Regions from separate parts of the Homo sapiens genome. Here regions 2, 3, 4, 5 and 6 are each linked to region 1. The links are contacts of gene promoters, found by promoter capture Hi-C in blood cells and fetal thymus (Javierre and others, 2016). All regions are on one chromosome and are shown on one strand. The core of a region is centred on a gene start or on the middle of the fragment in contact, and the rest is flanking DNA. Distances in the headings are between cores, read along the strand shown. Region 1 holds the start of MTHFD1L (methylenetetrahydrofolate dehydrogenase (NADP+ dependent) 1 like). Region 2 overlaps ZBTB2 (zinc finger and BTB domain containing 2). Region 3 overlaps AKAP12 (A-kinase anchoring protein 12). Region 4 overlaps AKAP12 (A-kinase anchoring protein 12). Region 5 overlaps AKAP12 (A-kinase anchoring protein 12). Region 6 overlaps AKAP12 (A-kinase anchoring protein 12).

The links. The method cuts DNA at HindIII sites, captures the fragments that hold promoters and counts their contacts. A CHiCAGO score of 5 or more calls a contact.
Region 2: a fragment that was not itself captured here is called in contact with the fragment with the promoter of MTHFD1L in region 1 in 2 of 17 cell types (M0 macrophages and M2 macrophages); the score reaches 7.3 in M0 macrophages.
Region 3: a fragment that was not itself captured here is called in contact with the fragment with the promoter of MTHFD1L in region 1 in 2 of 17 cell types (M2 macrophages and M0 macrophages); the score reaches 7.6 in M2 macrophages.
Region 4: a fragment that was not itself captured here is called in contact with the fragment with the promoter of MTHFD1L in region 1 in 5 of 17 cell types (monocytes, M2 macrophages, megakaryocytes and 2 more); the score reaches 8.5 in monocytes.
Region 5: a fragment that was not itself captured here is called in contact with the fragment with the promoter of MTHFD1L in region 1 in 1 of 17 cell types (M1 macrophages); the score reaches 5.8 in M1 macrophages.
Region 6: a fragment that was not itself captured here is called in contact with the fragment with the promoter of MTHFD1L in region 1 in 2 of 17 cell types (neutrophils and M1 macrophages); the score reaches 6.0 in neutrophils.

What each region holds. Positions count from the first base shown.
Region 1 is chr6:150,864,200-150,867,677 of GRCh38, forward strand. MTHFD1L (methylenetetrahydrofolate dehydrogenase (NADP+ dependent) 1 like) reads left to right here and starts at 1,503. Exons shown (of 28, transcript NM_015440.5): 1 at 1,503-1,850. The coding sequence starts at 1,624. RefSeq lists silencers at 1,345-1,574, 1,635-2,044, 2,205-2,404, 2,525-2,674. The HindIII fragment of the contact is 12,675 bases long and covers 1-3,478 here.
Region 2 is chr6:151,367,027-151,370,504 of GRCh38, forward strand. All of the region lies in intron 2 of ZBTB2 (zinc finger and BTB domain containing 2), which reads right to left. Among named protein-coding and RNA genes, the nearest start is that of ZBTB2, 23 kb to the right of the region's middle. The HindIII fragment of the contact is 6,019 bases long and covers 1-3,478 here.
Region 3 is chr6:151,347,714-151,351,191 of GRCh38, forward strand. It overlaps AKAP12 (A-kinase anchoring protein 12), which reads left to right. Exons shown (of 5, transcript NM_005100.4): 4 at 998-3,478. Among named protein-coding and RNA genes, the nearest start is that of ZBTB2, 42 kb to the right of the region's middle. The HindIII fragment of the contact is 587 bases long and covers 1,644-2,230 here.
Region 4 is chr6:151,327,847-151,331,324 of GRCh38, forward strand. The region is part of intron 3 of AKAP12 (A-kinase anchoring protein 12); the gene reads left to right. Among named protein-coding and RNA genes, the nearest start is that of ZBTB2, 62 kb to the right of the region's middle. The HindIII fragment of the contact is 6,146 bases long and covers 1-3,478 here.
Region 5 is chr6:151,299,120-151,302,597 of GRCh38, forward strand. The region is part of intron 2 of AKAP12 (A-kinase anchoring protein 12); the gene reads left to right. Among named protein-coding and RNA genes, the nearest start is that of AKAP12, 61 kb to the left of the region's middle. The HindIII fragment of the contact is 202 bases long and covers 1,687-1,888 here.
Region 6 is chr6:151,282,150-151,285,627 of GRCh38, forward strand. All of the region lies in intron 2 of AKAP12 (A-kinase anchoring protein 12), which reads left to right. Among named protein-coding and RNA genes, the nearest start is that of AKAP12, 44 kb to the left of the region's middle. RefSeq lists enhancers at 1,953-2,002, 2,013-2,062. The HindIII fragment of the contact is 1,670 bases long and covers 1,106-2,775 here.

The DNA of each region.
Region 1 (3,478 bases), core at 253-2,752:
CCTCAATCAACCTGGGACTGAAAGTATTTGAAAAAATTACAATAACAAAAAATAATAAAAAATCATAGAAATAAAAAAGTACAGTGTAATATCTATTTACATAGCATTTACATTGTATTAGGTATTATAAGTACAGCAGGTCCTGGAATAACATCATTTCATCATTTTGCTCAGTGGTTTTCTTATAATGATGAGAAAAAAATAGATTTCTGGCTGGGTCCACTGTCACGTTTTATCCATGTCTGTGTGGATTTTCTCTGTCTTCTGGTGTCCTGTCACATCCCAAAGCCGTGCAGTGCACTTTAGGTAAATTGGTGCATCTACACGATCCGAGTGTGAGTGTGGGTGTGTGTGAGCACACCCTGTGAGGTGCCCTGAGTTGGAATAAGCCGGTAAAAATGATCTCACTTTTATTAATCTTTATTTTTCTCTAAGCGAGAGGGATAGGGGGTGTTTAAAAAAAACTTTTTCTTTGAGACAGAGCTGTGCTCTGTCGCCCAGGCTAGAGTACAGTGACATGATCTCGGCTCACTGCAACCTCTGGCTCCTGGGTTCAAGCGATTCTCCTGCCTCAGCCTCCCGAGTAGCTGAGAATACAGGCACGCGCCACCACACCCAGCCAATTTTCTGTATTTTTAGTAGAGATGGGGTTTCGCCATGTTGGCCAAGCTGGTCTTGAACTTCTGGCCTCACGTGATCTGCCCACCTCAGCCTCCCAAAGTGTTGGGATTATAGGCGTGAGCTAAAAATCTTCCTTAAATATATGCATGGCTCACACTTATTTCAATGTTTAATATTAGAAGTGTTTTGGTCTTTATTTCGAAGTTTAGGGGCGATTTTGTGACCACAGATATGTTGTAGGAACTTCACTCATATCAATTAGCCTGTGGTCAAACTGTTTTCCTTACAGTCATTTGGCTTAAAGTTTCAGTTTCCAAGAACCCCTCCACGATGTTAGGTGAGGACTTAGGGAATGTGGAGATGACCTAAAGTTTATGATGGGAAGATGTGTGTAGGTGATATGCAAACACTTTTTTTTTTTTTTTTTTTTACCAAGGACTTGAGCATTTGTGGACGTGGGTCCCCTGGAGGGGCCCTGGAACCAATCAGGACTATAAAATCCTTTTAAGGTTTTAAGAAGAGCATTGTTATCTCTGTGGTACTGACGAAGACCCCGCAAGCTCACCGAGATTAAGTGCCCCTGCCTAAGGTTACAAAGCCTCTTATCCTCAGGCCACCTCCAGTACAGCAAATCCAAGCCCTCCCGTCTAAACTTGGCGCCCTGAGTACCAAGGGTCACCTCGGCCTTTCAGGCTGAAGGGAGGGAGGCTGAGTCTCAGGGCAGAGTCTGAGTCCCACTCCGCACCCCACCCTCTGTCTGGTACAGCTTACCAAACCAAAGTGCCCAAAGCCGTGACATCCCGGCCGGCGGCTCGCAGGCCCCCGCCCTCCGCACGTCACGGCCGCCGGGTGCAGTGCCCCCTAGGGGCCCCTGGGACGAGGAGGAAGCGCCAGGTCCTTCCCGCCGCCGCCGCCGCCGCCGCCGCCTGCTCCCCTGGCACGCGCCCCGCCGCCCTCGGCAGCCGCAGCTCCGTGTCCCCTGAGAACCAGCCGTCCCGCGCCATGGGCACGCGTCTGCCGCTCGTCCTGCGCCAGCTCCGCCGCCCGCCCCAGCCCCCGGGCCCTCCGCGCCGCCTCCGTGTGCCCTGTCGCGCTAGCAGCGGCGGCGGCGGAGGCGGCGGCGGTGGCCGGGAGGGCCTGCTTGGACAGCGGCGGCCGCAGGATGGCCAGGCCCGGAGCAGCTGCAGCCCCGGCGGCCGAACGCCCGCGGCGCGGGACTCCATCGTCAGGTGAGTGTCGGGTCTGGCCCTGGCCCAGGTCTCCAGCGGCTGTGGCCCCGACCCAGGGGCGGAGCGCCCGGGACCGCCGTGGGGAGCGGGGCGCGGGGCTGCGAGTGTTTGGTGCCAACTCATTAGGGGGGCCGGGCGGTGTGTCGGGAAACGCGGGCTTGGGCACTGCGGCCGGGAGCGCTGGCGGAGAACGGGGGATCCAGTACCCGACCGGGCCCGCAGCGCAGGTGGGCGTGGGCATCTCCAATGGGCGCCTAGCGGCATGGACCGCACGCCCGGCTCCACGTGCGCAGCCGGCCGCCGGCTCTGATGCAATCGCGCCGGGCGCGACCCAGACGGTAAAGGGGCGGTGCGGCTGGGGCGGAAACCAGGGGAGGGGGCGAGGAGCAGGAGGAGGGCGGGGCTGCGGCTCGGCGCGCCGGCTGGCCCGGGGTTCGGGAAGGGCAAGCGGAGCTCGGGAGAGGCGGGCTCGGGCCCAGCGCCGCCCGCGCGAAGCTCCCTGGTGTTGTGCGCCCTTCCCCGCGCGCGGCCCCTCCTGCTGGGCTGGGGTCTGTGGCTGACGTCCGCTTTTCCCGGAACGGCAAAGGTGGAGCCGGGCCCCCGGGACAGCCGCCGGGGGGAATCCGAGAGGTCTCAGCGCTGGTTTCCAGCTTCGCCGCGCAGCGCCCACGGAGTCCCCGCGCAGCTGGGTTTGCAGGGTTTTCTGCGGGCCCAGAGCGAACTGGGAGCCCCGGGCCCGGCCTTTCCCGTCCCGGTCCCCGCCCCTGGGCTCCAGCCTTCCCCGCCCTCGCCCAGAGGGGCGCACGGGTCTCGGGCCTTGCAGGGCGAGCCCTTCGGGACAACTTGGGGGTGGCAAGAAAGCCCCTTCCGCCTCCCTCGGAACTGGGATTAGGAACGAGTTCCAGGATGCGGTTTCCCCGGCCAGCGGACCACCTCCTCCATTCACATCCTCTTCCCTTTCCTTCTAGCCTTCTTTCTTAGTCATTGCCTGCTTGCCTTTCTCTCTGCCTTTCCTTCCTCCCTCTGCTCTCCCATTTTCCTCCCCACTCCCCTTCTCCCATCTCAGTAAAATACGTTTCCTAGGCTCTTTATTATGTGGCGGATGATTTTAAGGGGCCATTTATTTAGTTTTTCTTGTTCTCTGTCTTCTTTTTCTTTTAGAAATGGAGTCTCGCTTTGTTGCTCAGGCTGGAGTTCAGTGGTGCCATCTCGGCTCAATGCAGCCTCCGCCTCCTGGGCTCAAGCGATTCTCCCGCCTTAGCCTCCAGTGTAACTGGGACCACAGGTGTGCGCTACCATGCCCGGATTATTTTATTTTATTTTCATAGAGACAGAGCACCACTCTGTTACCAGGCTGGTCTGGAACTCCTGGGCGCAAGCCATCATCCCTGCCCCCAAAAGCGCTGGGATTAATTACACGTCAGGTCATTAGGTTTTAACCTGCACGTTGCTGAGACTCATCTTACCGGTTAGAGTCTGAAGCCAGGATAGGCGGCAAAAAAACTTCTCCCGTCATGCTGTTTTATTTTCTAGGTAAACTGATTATTACCTGAAACTTCCTTCTTTGCTCATTTCTTGTCTGTCTCACCCACCTGGAATATGAGCTTCATGAGACAGCCGTCTCTTCG
Region 2 (3,478 bases), core at 604-3,103, 500 kb after region 1:
AAATGGGATGAAATAATCAAGAGACGAAGTTCACGTTAAAGAAATGTGATATCTTAATCCACAGATTCTTAGAGCAGTTTTTCTCCTAGTAAGTTAATTTTTTTTTTTTTTTGAGGCGGAGTCTCACTCTGTCACCCAGGCTGGAATGCAATGGCACAATCTCGGCTCACTGCAAGCTCCGCCTCCCAGGTTCAAGTGATTCTCCTGCCTCAGCCTCCCGAGTAGCTGGGATTACAGGCGCTCACTACCACGCCCAGTTAATTTTTGTATTTTTAATAGAGACGGGGATTCACCATGTTGGCCAGGGTGGTCTCCAATTCCTGACCTCAAGTGATCAGCCCTCCTTGGCCTCCCAAAGTGCTGGGATTATAGGCGTGAGCCACCACGCCTGGCCAAGTTAAATTAAATATTATGTATTCTATTTTTATACAGAACTCCAGGAGTTCCTTATCAAATGCCACCATCAACATCAGCACTGCTCCTGGGCTTTACAGGGATGCCTTCTCACTTGATTGTCATTCATTCTCATTTTACAGGAAAGGATTGAGGATTAGAGGGTTAATAACCTGCTCAATATCATGTAGTTGGTAAGAGGTGGAGCTGGTATTTGAAACAATGTTTGTCTAAGTCCAAAGCCACCACAGCAAGATCCTTTAGAGAATCAAAACAATCCTGTATGGTAGATAAAGTGGATTTATTTAGTCCGATTTGACAGATATGGAAACTGAGGTCCCAAAAAGTTAAGTGATTTATCTAAGGCACCTAAAGCCGTTGAAGATGCTATTAATTTTATAACTTTAGATTCTACTCCTTTTATCATTTCAGAAACATCATTCCTGATCAAGCAGTAATAATGAAGAGGTTCCCAAGAACTCTTCCCAGACCATCGGTAGTAACAAATTCTAAAGCATCATTAGAAATTAGTGAGATCTATATCCACATATCACAAGGTATATATTATATTCCACTGAGTGGATATTCTATAGACAATGCATTTCAAATTCAAAGACAGCTTCCTTGAATGCTTTTAGAATTTATAATTTTCTTTTATTATACTTTTTGTATTGTAATCTTCTTTGGCCCTTTTAGCAATCATGTTCATTTGATTAACAAATATTTTCTTTTCTTTTCTTTTTTTGAGACGGAGTCTTGCTCTGTCACCCAGGCTGGACTGCAGTGGTGCGATCTCGGCTCACTGCAAGCTCCGCCTCCCGGGTTCACACCATTCTCCTGCCTCAGCCTCCAGAGTAGCTGGGACTACAGGTGTCCGCCACCACACCCGGCTAATTTCTTTTTGTATTTTTAGTAGAGACGGGGTTTCACCATGTTAGCCAGGATGGTCTTGATCTGCTGAACTCGTGATCTGCCCGCCTCGGCCTCCCAAAGTGCTGGGATTACAGGTGTGAGCCACCGCGCCTGGCAACTTTGTTGTTTTTTGTTTTGTTTTGAGACAGAGTCTCACTCTGTCACCAGGCTGGAGTGCAGTGGCACAATCTCAGCTCACTGCACCCTCCATCCCCTCGTCCAAGTGATTCTCCTTCCTCAGCCTCCCGAGTAGCTGGGATTACAGGCGTGTGCCACCAGTCCCGGCTAGTTTTTGTGTATTTAGTAGGGATGGGGTTTTGCCATGTTGGCCAGGCTGGTCTCGAACTCCTGACCTCAGGTGATCTGCCCACCTCGGCCTCCCAAAGTGATGGGATTACAGGCGTGAGCTACTGCGCCTGGTCATTTTTCTTTCTTTTTTTTTTTAATTTTGAGACGAAGTCTTGCTCTGCTGCCCAGGCTGGAGTGCAGTGGCATGATTTTGGCTCACTGCAATCTCCGCCTCCCAGGTTCAAGTGATTCTTCTGCTTCGCCTCCCAAGTTGGGATTACAGGTGCCCGCCACCAGGCCCAGCTAATTTTTGTATTTTTTTTAGTAGAGACAGGATTTCACTGTGTTGGCCAGGCTGGTCTTGAACTCCTGACCTCAAGTGATCTGCCCATCTCGGCCTCCCAAAGTGCTAGGATTACAGGCATGAACCACCGCGCCTGGCTGACTTTGGTGTAAATTTTGTAATTCTTTTCTCATTCATTGTTGGATAGGCTGTCTTATCTATCACTTATGAATGGTGACTCAACGGTAAGCCTCTCAAATTTGAAAGAACTATGTACAGTCTCAGATGGCAAAAAAGGGACACAGCTGGGGACACCTTGGCCCACACTTTAGGCAGGCCTGGAGGGAGGACTCCAAGGGGCCAGGGAAAAGAAAGCGGCGAGTCCCTGGGGTTTACAGCCAGGGATGCGAGGGCCCAAGGAGGTCTCCAAACACCAATTTATTTTGATTAAAAACAATTTTTTTTGAGAGAGGGGGTCTTGCTCTGTAGGCCCAGGCTGGAGTGCAGTGGCATGATCATAGCTGACTGCAGCCTCAGCCTCCTGAGTAGCTCAGACTATAGGCACATGCCACTACACCCAGCTAATTTTTAAACTTTTATAGAGACAGGGCCTCACCATCTTGCCCAGGTTGGTCTTGAACTCCTGGGCTCAAGAAATCCTCCTGCCTCAGCCTTGGGATTACAGCATTGGGATTACAGGCGTGAACCACTGCACGCAGCCTTAAAAAAAAATTTTTTTTTTTAAAGCAGAAGCACATGTGCACACATACACTTAAAAAACAGGTGGAGGCTGGGCGCAGTGGCTAATGCCTATAATCCCAGCACTTTGGGAGGCCGAGGTGGGTGGATCACCTGGGGTCAGGTGTTCAAGACCAGCCTGGCCAACATGGCAAAACCCTGTCTCTATTAAAAATACAAAAATTAGCCGGGCGTGGTGGTGCGCAGCTGTAACCCCAGCTACTGGGATCGCACTCCAGCCTGGGCGACAAGAGCGAGACTCCATCTCAAAACAAACAAACAAACAAACAAAAAACAGGTAGAATTTTTCAAAGTTCCTTAATGTACATTTCAGCCATCTCCATCCCTGACTGCTTTTATTTCCAGGCAGCTTGACCTCTGTCAATCACTCAGCTCACTATGCGCCAGACTTTGGTCTTTTCCCAGTCCTGTGGAAAGGACATAGTTCTCTACAATATACTTACATCTAAGTAGTTTCCAGATATGTTTGACATAACATTTTTTTTTGTTTTGAAATGGAGTTTCACTCTTGTTGCCCAGGCTGGAGTGCAGTGACACGATCTCGGCTTACTGCAACCTCCGCCTCCCGGGTTCAAGCAATTCTCCTGCCTCAGTCTCCCGAGTAGCTGGGATTACAGGTGCACGCCACGATGCCCGGCTAATTTTTCTATTTTTAGTAGAGATGGGGTTTCACCATGTTGGCCAGGCTGGTTGACATACTTTCATGTAGGAAAAAGATGAATATAGTTTTACTACAGCTATAAGCCCTTTCGTATAAACTTCCATAGTAATTTCCGTTTTCAATTATTCCTTCACTAGAATTTTAAAAGAAATGATAGGCTTAAACAACTTTAAAAGTAAGGA
Region 3 (3,478 bases), core at 687-3,186, 480 kb after region 1:
AGAAAGTATTAATTGGTCATATTTTTAAAATATTTAATTTTCACTGGGTGCAGTGGCTCACGCCTGTAATCCCAGCACTTTGGGAGGCCGAGGTGGGTGGATCACTAGAGGTCAGGAGCTCAAGACCAGCCTGGCCAGCATGGTGAAACCCCTCCCATACTAAAAATACAAAAATTGACTGGGCGTGTTGGCTCACGCCTGTAATCCCAGCACTTTGGGAGGCAGAGGTGGGTGGATCACGAGGTCAGAAGATCGAGACCATTCTGGCTAACACGGTGAAACCCCGTCTCTATACTAAAAATACAAAAAAAAAAAAATTAGCCTCCCTACTCGGGAGGCTGAGACAGGAGAATGGCGTGAACCCAGGAGGCGGAGCTTGCAGTGAGCCACGATCGTGCCTCTGCACTCCAGCCTGGGTGACAGAGTGAGACTCCATCTCAAAAAAAACAAACAAAAAAAACAAATTAGCTGGGCATGGTGACAGACGCCTGTAATCCCAGCTAATCAGGAGGCTGAGGTGGGAGAATCACTTGAACCTAGGACAGAGGTTGCAGTGAACCGAGATCGTGCCACTGTGCTCCAGCCTGGGCGACAGAGTGAGACTCTGTCTCAAAAAAAAAAAAAAAAAAAGTTAATTTTCTTGGGCTAGGCACTATAGCTCACACTTGTAATCCCACTGCTTTGAGAAGCTGAGACAGGAGGGTCACTTGAGCCCAGCAGTTGGAGAGCAGCCTGGACAACATAGTGAGATCTCATCTCTACAGAAAATAAAAAACTTAGCTGGACATGGTGGCATGTGCCTGTAGTCCCAGCTACTCGGGATGCTGAGGTGGGAGGATTCCTTGAGCCTGGGAGGTTGAGGCTGCAGTGAGCCGAGACCACACCACTGCCCTCCAGCCGGGGCAAGAGAGTGAGGCCCTGTCGGAGAAAAACAATTTTCTTGTATTGTAATCACCTTTTCTCTTCTCCCCACCCCCCCGCCCCTTTTTGTTAATAGTTGGACAGAGAGACTCTGAAGATGTGAGCAAAAGAGACTCCGATAAAGAGATGGCTACTAAGTCAGCGGTTGTTCACGACATCACAGATGATGGGCAGGAGGAGACACCCGAAATAATCGAACAGATTCCTTCTTCAGAAAGCAATTTAGAAGAGCTAACACAACCCACTGAGTCCCAGGCTAATGATATTGGATTTAAGAAGGTGTTTAAGTTTGTTGGCTTTAAATTCACTGTGAAAAAGGATAAGACAGAGAAGCCTGACACTGTCCAGCTACTCACTGTGAAGAAAGATGAAGGGGAGGGAGCAGCAGGGGCTGGCGACCACAAGGACCCCAGCCTTGGGGCTGGAGAAGCAGCATCCAAAGAAAGCGAACCCAAACAATCTACAGAGAAACCCGAAGAGACCCTGAAGCGTGAGCAAAGCCACGCAGAAATTTCTCCCCCAGCCGAATCTGGCCAAGCAGTGGAGGAATGCAAAGAGGAAGGAGAAGAGAAACAAGAAAAAGAACCTAGCAAGTCTGCAGAATCTCCGACTAGTCCCGTGACCAGTGAAACAGGATCAACCTTCAAAAAATTCTTCACTCAAGGTTGGGCCGGCTGGCGCAAAAAGACCAGTTTCAGGAAGCCGAAGGAGGATGAAGTGGAAGCTTCAGAGAAGAAAAAGGAACAAGAGCCAGAAAAAGTAGACACAGAAGAAGACGGAAAGGCAGAGGTTGCCTCCGAGAAACTGACCGCCTCCGAGCAAGCCCACCCACAGGAGCCGGCAGAAAGTGCCCACGAGCCCCGGTTATCAGCTGAATATGAGAAAGTTGAGCTGCCCTCAGAGGAGCAAGTCAGTGGCTCGCAGGGACCTTCTGAAGAGAAACCTGCTCCGTTGGCGACAGAAGTGTTTGATGAGAAAATAGAAGTCCACCAAGAAGAGGTTGTGGCCGAAGTCCACGTCAGCACCGTGGAGGAGAGAACCGAAGAGCAGAAAACGGAGGTGGAAGAAACAGCAGGGTCTGTGCCAGCTGAAGAATTGGTTGAAATGGATGCAGAACCTCAGGAAGCTGAACCTGCCAAGGAGCTGGTGAAGCTCAAAGAAACGTGTGTTTCCGGAGAGGACCCTACACAGGGAGCTGACCTCAGTCCTGATGAGAAGGTGCTGTCCAAACCCCCCGAAGGCGTTGTGAGTGAGGTGGAAATGCTGTCATCACAGGAGAGAATGAAGGTGCAGGGAAGTCCACTAAAGAAGCTTTTTACCAGCACTGGCTTAAAAAAGCTTTCTGGAAAGAAACAGAAAGGGAAAAGAGGAGGAGGAGACGAGGAATCAGGGGAGCACACTCAGGTTCCAGCCGATTCTCCGGACAGCCAGGAGGAGCAAAAGGGCGAGAGCTCTGCCTCATCCCCTGAGGAGCCCGAGGAGATCACGTGTCTGGAAAAGGGCTTAGCCGAGGTGCAGCAGGATGGGGAAGCTGAAGAAGGAGCTACTTCCGATGGAGAGAAAAAAAGAGAAGGTGTCACTCCCTGGGCATCATTCAAAAAGATGGTGACGCCCAAGAAGCGTGTTAGACGGCCTTCGGAAAGTGATAAAGAAGATGAGCTGGACAAGGTCAAGAGCGCTACCTTGTCTTCCACCGAGAGCACAGCCTCTGAAATGCAAGAAGAAATGAAAGGGAGCGTGGAAGAGCCAAAGCCGGAAGAACCAAAGCGCAAGGTGGATACCTCAGTATCTTGGGAAGCTTTAATTTGTGTGGGATCATCCAAGAAAAGAGCAAGGAGAGGGTCCTCTTCTGATGAGGAAGGGGGACCAAAAGCAATGGGAGGAGACCACCAGAAAGCTGATGAGGCCGGAAAAGACAAAGAGACGGGGACAGACGGGATCCTTGCTGGTTCCCAAGAACATGATCCAGGGCAGGGAAGTTCCTCCCCGGAGCAAGCTGGAAGCCCTACCGAAGGGGAGGGCGTTTCCACCTGGGAGTCATTTAAAAGGTTAGTCACGCCAAGAAAAAAATCAAAGTCCAAGCTGGAAGAGAAAAGCGAAGACTCCATAGCTGGGTCTGGTGTAGAACATTCCACTCCAGACACTGAACCCGGTAAAGAAGAATCCTGGGTCTCAATCAAGAAGTTTATTCCTGGACGAAGGAAGAAAAGGCCAGATGGGAAACAAGAACAAGCCCCTGTTGAAGACGCAGGGCCAACAGGGGCCAACGAAGATGACTCTGATGTCCCGGCCGTGGTCCCTCTGTCTGAGTATGATGCTGTAGAAAGGGAGAAAATGGAGGCACAGCAAGCCCAAAAAAGCGCAGAGCAGCCCGAGCAGAAGGCAGCCACTGAGGTGTCCAAGGAGCTCAGCGAGAGTCAGGTTCATATGATGGCAGCAGCTGTCGCTGACGGGACGAGGGCAGCTACCATTATTGAAGAAAGGTCTCCTTCTTGGATATCTGCTTCAGTGACAGAACCTCTTGAACAAGTAGAAGCTGAAGCCGCACTGTTAACTG
Region 4 (3,478 bases), core at 246-2,745, 460 kb after region 1:
TGCACAGAAAATCTTAACTCCAAAAATTTACCAGCAAGAAATCTTACGTAGTGGAAAAAGTAAAAATGAAAGGGAGTTTCAGCTGTCATTTGGTTTTTGCTCCGCAAGTTATTCTGATGGGGAAGATTCATAATCATCATCTTTAAATAGTTGCTCAGAATCTTGAAAAGCCATGAGAGCTTTAAAAATTGACAGTAACAACCGGGCGCGGTGGCTCACGCCTGTAATCCCAGGACTTTGGGAGGCCGAGGTGGGCGGATCACGAGGTCAGGAGATCGAGACCATCCTGGCTAACACGGTGAAACCCCGTCTCTAGTAAAAATACAAAAAAATTAGCCGGGTGTGGTGGCGGGTGCCTGTAGTCCCAGCTACTTGGGAGGCTGAGGCAGGAGAATGGCGTGAACTCGGGAGGCAGAGCTTGCAGTGAGCCGAGATCGCGCCTCTGCACTCCAGCCTGGGCGACAGAGCGAGACTCCATCTCAAAAAAAAAAAAAAAATTGACAGTAAGGTGGCCGGGCGCGGCGGCTCACGCCTGTGATTCCAGCACTTTGGGAGGCGGAGGCGGGCGGATCACGAGGTCAGGAGTACAAGACTAGCCTGACCAACATGGTGAAACCCCGTCTCTACTAAAAATACAAAAATTAGCTGGACGTGGTAGTGTGCACCTGTGATCCCAGCTACTCGGGAGGCTGAGGCAGGAGAATTGCTTGAACCTGGGAGGCAGAGGTTGCAGTGAGTCAAGATTGTGCCACTGCACTCCAGCCTGGGTGACAGAGCAAGACTCCGTCTCAAAAAAAAAAAAAAAAATTAAATTGACAGTAAGGTTTAATGAAATCTTAAAGGTCTTTGCATCTTTGGGATTATTCACTTAAATACTATAGAAGGTTATTGTAGTTATCTTTAGTACTATGTTATTTTAGGAGGCCTGTGTTTAAATTTTACAATTCATTAACAGGACTGATGGCATTTTGTAGGAACTACTTAGGAACAAGTTTGCATTTCTGAAAGTAAGGAAAAGCTGTCACTTAATACTATTATCCCCCTCCCCCCTGCCACACACACAACCCAGTTTACACAAACCACTAAAATGAATGCAGTGGAAATTGAATTATGAAATGATTGCTTATTCACATTACATACTGTTGCCATTCTTGGGGTCTCTTTCTCTCACATCTCATTTGCAATAAGTTAGCTTTGAGACAAGAAATAAGTGATGTGACACGATGATCATCCCCTTCCCCACTCAACTGTAAATGGCGTGCCAGCATAAAAATGCCTTTTTTTTTGAGATGAAGTCTCACTCTGTCACCCAGGCTGGAGTGCAGTGGCGCGATCTCAGCTCACTGCAACCTCCACCTCCCGGGTTCAAGCAGTTCTCCCTGCCTCAGCCTCCCAAGCAGCTGGGATTACAGGCACCTGCCACCACGCCCCGCTAATGTTTGTATTTTTAGTAGAGACGAGGTTTCGCCATGTTGGCCAGGCTGGTCTTGAACTCCTGACCTCAGGTGATCCACCCGCCTCAGCCTCCCAAAGTGGTGTGAGCCACCACGCCCGGCCAAAAAAATGCTTTTTGAATTAAGCAAGTATCTTTTCGCTTTTCTCTAACACCCACATTACTGAAACTGATAATATTGATACATTGCAAACTGTGAAGTATCATGAGAAACAGGGACATTATTCTTTAAAGTAGAAACTGGGGAAGAATCAATCCTCCAACGTTCATGTTAGTTCTAGATTATTTATAATGCACTTTCCGATGCAAATAATTTTTACAAGAGAAAAAAATACCTTGCACATGGGTGTTTCACATCTGCTATGGAGACAGATTCCTTGTCAAGAGACTTTGGAGACACGAAATTGATACTTTCACAACTGCTGGATTAATAACTACCACTTCCTGAGTGCCTAGTCTGGCAGGTGTTGTTCAGCACTTTGTGGACATTATCATGTATTCCTCACAATAATCCTGCAAAAAGTGGTTCTGTAACCCCATTTCTATCATAAAAGTAAGTTTCTCATGATTTGATAATTACCCAAGGTTTCACAGCTAGAAAGAGCATAACTGTAGAGTACCTTGCAAAAGACCTCTTTCTCGTTGTGAAGATGCTAATACTTGTTTAGTGACCCACATTCTTACATGCCTGCCCAGATGTTTAAGGGATCGTGAAACATCAATATCAAGACCAGGGATTGGGACTGGGCACGGTGGCTTATGCCTGTAATCCCAGCACTTTGGGAGGCCAAGGCAGGTGGATCGCTTGAGTCCAGGAGTTTGAGACCAGCATGGTCAACGTAGGGGAGACCTCCTCTCTACAACAAATTAAAGATTTAGCTGTGCATGGTGGCACATGCCTGTAGTCCCAGTCACTTGGGAAGCTGAGGTAGGAGAATCACTTGCACCACTGAATTCCAGCCTGAGCAACAGAGCAAGACCCTGTCCCTACCCCACCCCCCAAAAAACACACCAGGTCCAATGATGATGTCACCTATATGCTCCAGTATGGGATCCTTGCTTTTATGAATTTGCATATATCTCCGCTTGGAGGTTTTCTGGTTAATGAGCTTTAGAACAAGGGAGATTGGGTGTGTAGCCTATAAGGGATGGACTTAGAATGCAGAGAATTCCTGGAAAAATTCCAGGACAATGCTACGAATCTTGGGGGAAAGATAACTAGTTCCAGATGTTACTGTAAGCCGTCCTGATGTGCCTGGGGATGGGGAGCACTGGTGATTCTCAGCCTGAAAAATGAACATGTCGTTTCTGCAGTATCGTACTTCTTTTTCTCAACCAAAAATGATGGTGCTGGTGTCACTGAAACCTGATAGCTAAGTTTTGGATAAAAACATTAATATTTTGTAGTATATAATCAACATATTCCTTTAAAGTTTTTTTTTCTTTTAAGCCTCTAAAAGAAAACAATTTATAATTTATCTCTTAATCGCTAAGTATTTGGAAAAGTGAGAAAAAAAAGATGATGCTCCAGGTTTTGAACACACGGGCTGTCTCTACATTATATGGAGCTTGCGGATGGGGAACACATAGCCAGCAGGGACCACTGTAGCTTAGCCCTTCTTGGGATCATGGAGCGTTTGCAGCTTTGGGGACGGGGAGATTATGGAGATTTTCGAAAGGAAAATGTGTATTTGCACATACACGTTATAGACCTGGAGACTGATTTTATAAATCGGGATTCACAGAACATTTATCTGGAGATAAACCCAGGTTAATAGCAGGTAACAACACCTCAGTGTGAAACACTTCAGTAATTCTTGGCCCAAGTGAGGTTTTTGTACATGAAATGATTTCAAGTTTTGATTTCTTACTACATCACTAAAGATGTAACTTTTCATATATTTTCACATTTATTTGACTCCGTTAATATTCCATAGGACTTTTTTTTTTAACCTTGAAGGGGCTTGTTATGACAAAGCTGTTTAAAATATTAAAAAGCACCTAGTTTGTTATTATTGAATAAGT
Region 5 (3,478 bases), core at 538-3,037, 440 kb after region 1:
TGTAGAACTGTGATATGCTTGGCTCCGTCCCGTTCAATGTTTTTGATGAATGGCTTAGCTGAGGACATTAATATGTTATTTACATTTGGAGATGATATAAACAGAGGAGTTAAAGCTCCAGCAGTGTGGCCTGTTGGCCTAGATGATCTTAAAAGATTTATGAACCCTGGCAAGCAAGGTTATTAACATGCTTGAAGCCTAAGAATCTATGAGTTTTAGGGTTCAATGTATTTTCACTTCTACAGTGATAAAGTGAGTAAAAAGGAAACCGTGTCTGTTCTCCCAATTTCCCTCTAAGAGGATAAAACCAAACAACAACAATGCCATAGAGGTAACCATTATTAAAGATTTGGTACATATTGTTCCAGACTTTAAAAAAAATGCTTACACAAACATTGACTCCTTTTCTCTCTCCCTTTTCCTCTTCCTCTCCCTCTTTGTCAGTGGGTTATTTTTGTTTAGTTTGGTTTTAAACACATAAAAGAATCATTCTCAGCAACTTGCTTCTTTTCCCCCTTAAGCCAGGGACATCTTCACACATGAGTGTGTCTAAATCTACCTCATAGCTTTTGATGTTGTCTATTGCATGAACATTTCATAATTTAACTACTCCCCTCTACTGATAGACATTTAAGGGTTTTTTTTTTTTTTGCTATTATGAAGTATTTATTACTTATTTATTTTTCCTTTGTAGAGACTGGGTTTCAGTTTGTTGCCCAGGCTGGTCTCAAACTCCTGGCTTAAAGCCATCCTCCTGCCTCAGCCTCCCAAAGTGCTGGAATTATAGGCATGAGGCACCACGCCCAACCCTATTATAAGTTATTATGTGTTGCACCTCATAAATATGTAATGCCATATCTATTAGAATGGCATGGTGTAGCTAATGGGTTTGCGTATTTAAAATTCTATCCCTATTTCCAAATTGCCTTCCAGGGATATTGTTTACTGATTTGTACTCTGGTTTTTATTTTTTTTGTTTGACATTTTTAAAGATTTACTTTCAAAACACTTTCTATTAGAATGAAGGAGAAAACACAATGAAGAGGTTTCTTTACAAGTTTTGTCGTGGGATTTAAAATTCCTTCCAGATAATCTTTAAGTCTGATGATTTGATCATTTGTGGGTGTGTCCTGGTTATATTGGCTTCTGGTTCCTTCCCACGAAGGCCACTTACAGGTTTGCTTCTTGGTCATACTGCCCGGGGTGGGACGAATTGCCCCTTTGGAGCCTCGTCTACTGTGTGAACTGCAGGAGTGCTGGGCCACTTGCACCCGGTCGTCCAATGAGGATGTAGATCTGGGAGTATCACTTCTGCAGTGAAAAGGGTTGCTTTGGTTGGCTTACCTCCTCTGCCCCTGGCATCCTGACAGCTGTCAAGGGCTCATCATTTCACAACTTCATTAAACAGCCTGGTACTCCTGTTTCTTACTCTGCAAAGGAGGTCCCTAGCACGTTGTGGACTCCTGTGGAGAAGGAAGTGGATGGAGAAGTCTCCTAGTTTTTCTGTGGTGCCTTGGCTACCACTTGGACATTCTTGGTTGTTGTTCTTACAGAAATGAGAGGAAAACACTGTTGCTGGAAACATTTGAGGTTTTTAGGGTCTTTTTTTTTTTTAACAGCTTGTTTAGTTGTAATGTGGTAATACTTCATGGGAATAAACTCTGGCTGACCCACTCAAAGGATATAAGCTTGAAAACATTTAGGGTTTTGATTTGTTCAAAGGAGGCATTTGTGCTTTTTGAAGCACAAATCCAGTGGGAAAATAGGTTTTCTGGTGCTTACCATGTTTAAGTGTAAGGAGCGTGTCTTTCAAGTCTAGTTCTCATCTCAAAAGAAATAACTATTTATAAAACTAAGTTCAGGGTGGAGGGATAAAGCTATGCGAGGAAGCTTCGGAGTGGAAAAAGTGAAATATACATTTCCTCCTTCTTTCTTGTTTGGTAACAGTTAAGTCCCAGTATTACTTTCCTCCCTGAAATGGGTGGTCCTCGAATCCCATCTGGCTCCAATGAATCCCATCTGGTTCCACCGCCTCCTGTCCCATGTGCCACTATGTTGTGTCTGCATCTTTCAGGGTCTCTCTGGGCAGAGCTGTGTGTAAATCCTGTCTTCTGTGGCCATTTGAGTTGCAGACAGGAGAGACTGATTGAAGTTAAGCAAGGTGCGTGTTTATTAATAAAGAAATGTACCCACAATGTATGAAACCATCAGGTCATAAAATAACACGTGTTCCCCATTATTTTTTAAGTGAATGCTTGTGCCTGTATATATACACACGTAGAAAACACAGAAAAGACTTAAATGAATGTAGGTTTGATTTCCTCTATTTGAGGTGACTTTAACTTATTGATAACTCTCAGAAGTCCGTGAATTTTTAACAACGGTATGACTTATTTAGACGGTTTGGGGATGGAAGAAAAAACAAAAACACTTTTGATTTGGAGTGAAATAAAGGGAATTATCCATCTTTAACAACACGTGGGATTTGCAAAAGTGTGGACATGTCTGAATGTGACAATCTGACTAGGAATGAAGTCCCATTTTGTGCGGATGTTGGTGCCTCATAGGCTCTGAAAGCTCACCTGAGACATCACCCTTGAGGTCAAAGCTTGGGTACCCTGGCGGGACGCAAGCTATTCACATAGTAAAATAGACTCAAAACTCAGGTTCAGTAACGTCACTGTCATAAATCGTTTTCTACCGAAGTTAATAATGTATCTACGGCCTTTCTCAAGTAGGGACAGTTACCCTGTGGTTACTGAAAATTAGTATCTCATAATGTATTCATTATCATACTTAGGATGTAAGGATGTGTAGCATTTGACCTCAGTTTTTAAGGGTCCTTCTTTTTATCATCTAATGTACTTTGCTATGTGTGTGTAACATCTCTTTTTTTTTTCTTTTTTTTTTTTTAAGAGACGGAGTCTCCCTCTGTTGCCCAGGCTGGAGTGCGTGATCTCAGCTCGCTGCAACCTCCGCCTCCCAGGTTCAAGTGATTCTCCTGCCTCAGCTTCCCTAGTAGCTGGGATTATAGGCGCACACCACCACACTTGGCTAATTTTTTGCATTTTTAGTAGAGACGGGGTTTCACCATGTTAGCCAGGATGGTCTCGATCTCCTGCCCTCATGATCTGCCTGCCTCGGCCTCCCAAAGTGCTGGGATTAAAGGCATGAGCCACTGCGCCTGGTGTAACATCTCTTTTTTAAATGATGTTTTTATTTGGAGACGAGGGTCTCTCTATGTTGTCCAGGCTGGCCTCAAACTTTTGGGCTCAAGCAATCCTCCTGCCTCAGTCTCCTAAGTGCTGGGACTACAGCGCACGTCACAGTGCCCGGCTCAGTAACATTTCTAAAAGAGTAGACGGAAATTTGTGCCTGTGTGCTATAGTCTTCATGTTTAAAGAGACTCAGTTTGGCTCCAACTAAAGATACCTTGGATTGGGCAATTCACAGAGGATTATAAGAATTTTTTCAATAA
Region 6 (3,478 bases), core at 691-3,190, 420 kb after region 1:
CTCGGCTCACTGCACCCTCCGCCTCCCAGGTTCGAGCGGGAGGCAGAGGTTGCAGTGAGCCGAGTAGTAGCTGCCTCAGCCTCCTGAATAGCTGGGACTACAGGCGCGTGCCACCACGCCCAGCTAATTTTTGTATTTTTAGTAGAGACAGGGTTTTGCCATGTTGGCCAGGCTGGTCTTGATTTCCTGACCTCAGGTGATCCACCCACCTCGGCCTCCCAAAGTGCTGGGATTACAGGTGTGAGCCACCGTGCCCAGCCTGCCCATACATCTTAAGGGACCTCCAGCTCACGCATGGGGGTTTTCCAGCCCACATGCCCAACCTTCACCAAAACAAATGTGCTGTAGCCCTTTGGTCTAGAGGTGCCCAGGGAAGAGGCTTGCATAGGTTCTGAGAATTCCAAATCTTGGGCCCCCAGGACAGGTGGATGTTAATTTCAGGAAGGTTTGCCCTTTTGGTTGCTGCGGGGGAAGGATGTAGCCAGAGGAGGGCCAGAATGGGGCTCTCCGCAGTGAGGGGCTCTGCCTGGGTCTGATGGTGTTACTGCTCACAGGGATTCTTTGAAGCAGCTGCTGATTCCCCGACTTCTCTTGTCTATTGGTTGAATAATGTTTTCCCTGCTGTCTACCTATCAGGTTATTCATTCCTGATTACTGTCAATGTTCAGGCTGGTCAAACTTGAAATCATTAACTATATAAAGTGTATTATGTATAAAGTGCTAGATTTGTAAGAAAGTTGCTATCTTCATCTTCATGGAGTTTAGTTTTTATCTTGGCTAAGCTCTTGCTAATTTCCCACAGTATAGCCTGCACTCATGTTATGAAAAAATTTAGATGACTGTTGAAGAGTATTCAGGATTTCTTTCTTACTTCTCGGCCCAGGACTGAGCCTTTATGAAAGTGGGTAGCAGGAGATTTTAGAAAAGTGGAGGCCCTTGTATAAGGAGGCTGGGCTCCATTTAATGACGGTGAGGAGGCACACTTTAGGAACTAAAGGAGACCAGCATGACAGATTGAGCGTTAAGGTAGAACTAAACAAGAGGCACTCAAAGGCAGGGAGATCAGCTCTTAGGATATTGCATTAAATCAACCATGAAATGCTAAAGCTTGAACTAGGGCAGAAATCAAGCAATGGGTACAGACAGCATTGAACACAAAAGAAATGGTAGGATTTGAGGGAGCATGAGGATGACCAAGATGCAGAAAAGCCCAAGATGGTCTCCAGGTTTCTAGGCTTTTCCAACGAGGATGCTAATTCTTTGCCTGAAAAAGAGTATTATCAAGTAAAGACATGGTCTCACTGTTGACCCAGAAAATAGAGGGACAGGGTAACAAAAGCAGTGATTTGTTTTCTGTAATACTAATGGCTGACACTGACTAGTGCTTACTGTGTCAGGTGCTGTCTGTCCTACGCGCTTGGTACACTTGTGATAGACACTTATAAATCCCCATTGTACCAATGAGGAAGCAGGCACCTAGAGGTGAAGGAACCTTACAGGTAGGGCCTCTTCTCAAGGCGAGGCATTCTGATCAGAGAATGCCTAAGAGAGGGAGAGACAGAGACAGAATTCAGTATAAAGACAGAAAGCCCACTGTTAAAAGCAATGTCAGGTGTTTTTCTGAGAGCTCAGAAGCTGTCACTGACATAACCAAACCTCAAATCCGGGAGTCATTCTTTTTCCGTTGGCAAGTCCCGCAGGCCTCATCTCCAAAGACATTTCACATCGACCCATTCTGTCCACAGGGCCTTCCCTGGCTTCATTTCTCCCCTGAATGGACACAGCAGCAGCCTTCCTGCCTCCAGCTTGCTCTCCTTCAGCTCCTCTCTGCAGGCAGATTGCTGGTTTGGGGGTTTTTAGGGTTTGTCTGTGGTCAATTTATATCTGATAAAGCGAGCAAGTCTTAAGCGTATAGCTTGGTGAGTTCTTACAAGGTGAACGCACGAGTAACCCTCTCCCAGGTCAGGTTGGAGAACCTCGCCAGTGCCCCAGAAGCCTCCCTTGCATCTCCTCCTGGTTATTGCTCCATTACATTCTGACTTCTGTCTGCACAGATCAGTGTCACACATCGTTCACCAGGTATGCAGTGATCTTTGAAACCTGCACGTTGAGTCATGTCGTTACCAGAACTCCTGGCATCACTTCCACATTGCACTCTTTGCCATTGCCTGACATGAGATAAATAAGAATGCATGGCTGGGTGTGGTGGCTAACACCTGTAATCCCGGCACTTTGGGAAGCCGAGGTGGAAGGATCGCTTGAGCCCAGGAGTTTGAGACCAGCCTGGGCAACATGGCGAAACCCTGTCTCTACAAAAAATACAAAAAAATTAGCTGGGTGTGGCAGTGTGCGCCTGTAGTCCCAGCTACTTGGGGGGCTGAGGCTGGAGTATTGCTTGAGCCTGAGAGGTCAGAGCTGCAGTGAGCCATAACTGAGCTACTGCACTCCAGTCTGGGCAACAGAGCAAGACCCTGTCTCAAACAAAACCGAAACCAAAAACAAAGAATGAACACATGTCGATGTCTTATTTCTCTCTTCCCTGCCATTGGTACTTTTTGCCTATTCAGATCCAGCTCAAAACTCAACTTTTTCTGGTACACTTTCTCTTATCAACAGAACTGAAAGAGACCCCTCCCTGTTAGTACTATGTGTCTTAGTACTCTGTCTTTGATGTGTGGCACTTCCTTTTGACTTGACGCATCCAGATGACATAGGAACCCATCACAGGGATTAATCAAATGTTGACTAACGCATGGGGACCCAGGGTGGAACCAAAGCTTTTGCAAAATGATGAACATTCAGAGGCTTTGGAGAGTGAACTTGGAGGTCAACAAAGAGAATGAAATGCAAGATGCAGTATGAGCATGTGGTGGGTCTGGACTGCAAGATTCAGGCACTTTATTTTAGGAATAGTTAATGTGAAGAACATGATTTATGAACGACAGAGTGGGGAGTGTATTGAGACCAAGTAAGACTAATGCTCCATTGTGAAAACTTACATATCAAAGCAAATATATTGTCCCCTCTGTCCCCAGAAGCAATAACTGGAAACAGTTTTAGAGGACATAACCTAATTGGTATAAAAACTTTTCACTCTCAGAACTATTTTTCCCATTGTCATAGGAGTGGATACCAAATAATGTTTTCCTGTCTTGGCAGTGATTCACATTACTGAGTTTGCTATTGAACTATTTTTTCCTTGCCAGGAAGTACACATCAGAGAGCTGCATTTCACTGTGTGTGTGTGTGTGTGTGTGTGTGTGTGTGTGTATCTATTTCAATCTACTGATTACCAAAGAGCTTATAATTCTTAATGGAGAGTTTGTGGAAAAGATGAAAAAAGGATTTTTTTAAAGAACAATAACCAGAAAGTTTGAGACAATTGAGTATTATAGCAAAGTCCTTTCTTGCGGTGACTTCTCTGGTTGTAATGTCTTGGGTTAAAAAAAAAAATCAATTTCATGCAAAAAAGGGGGGA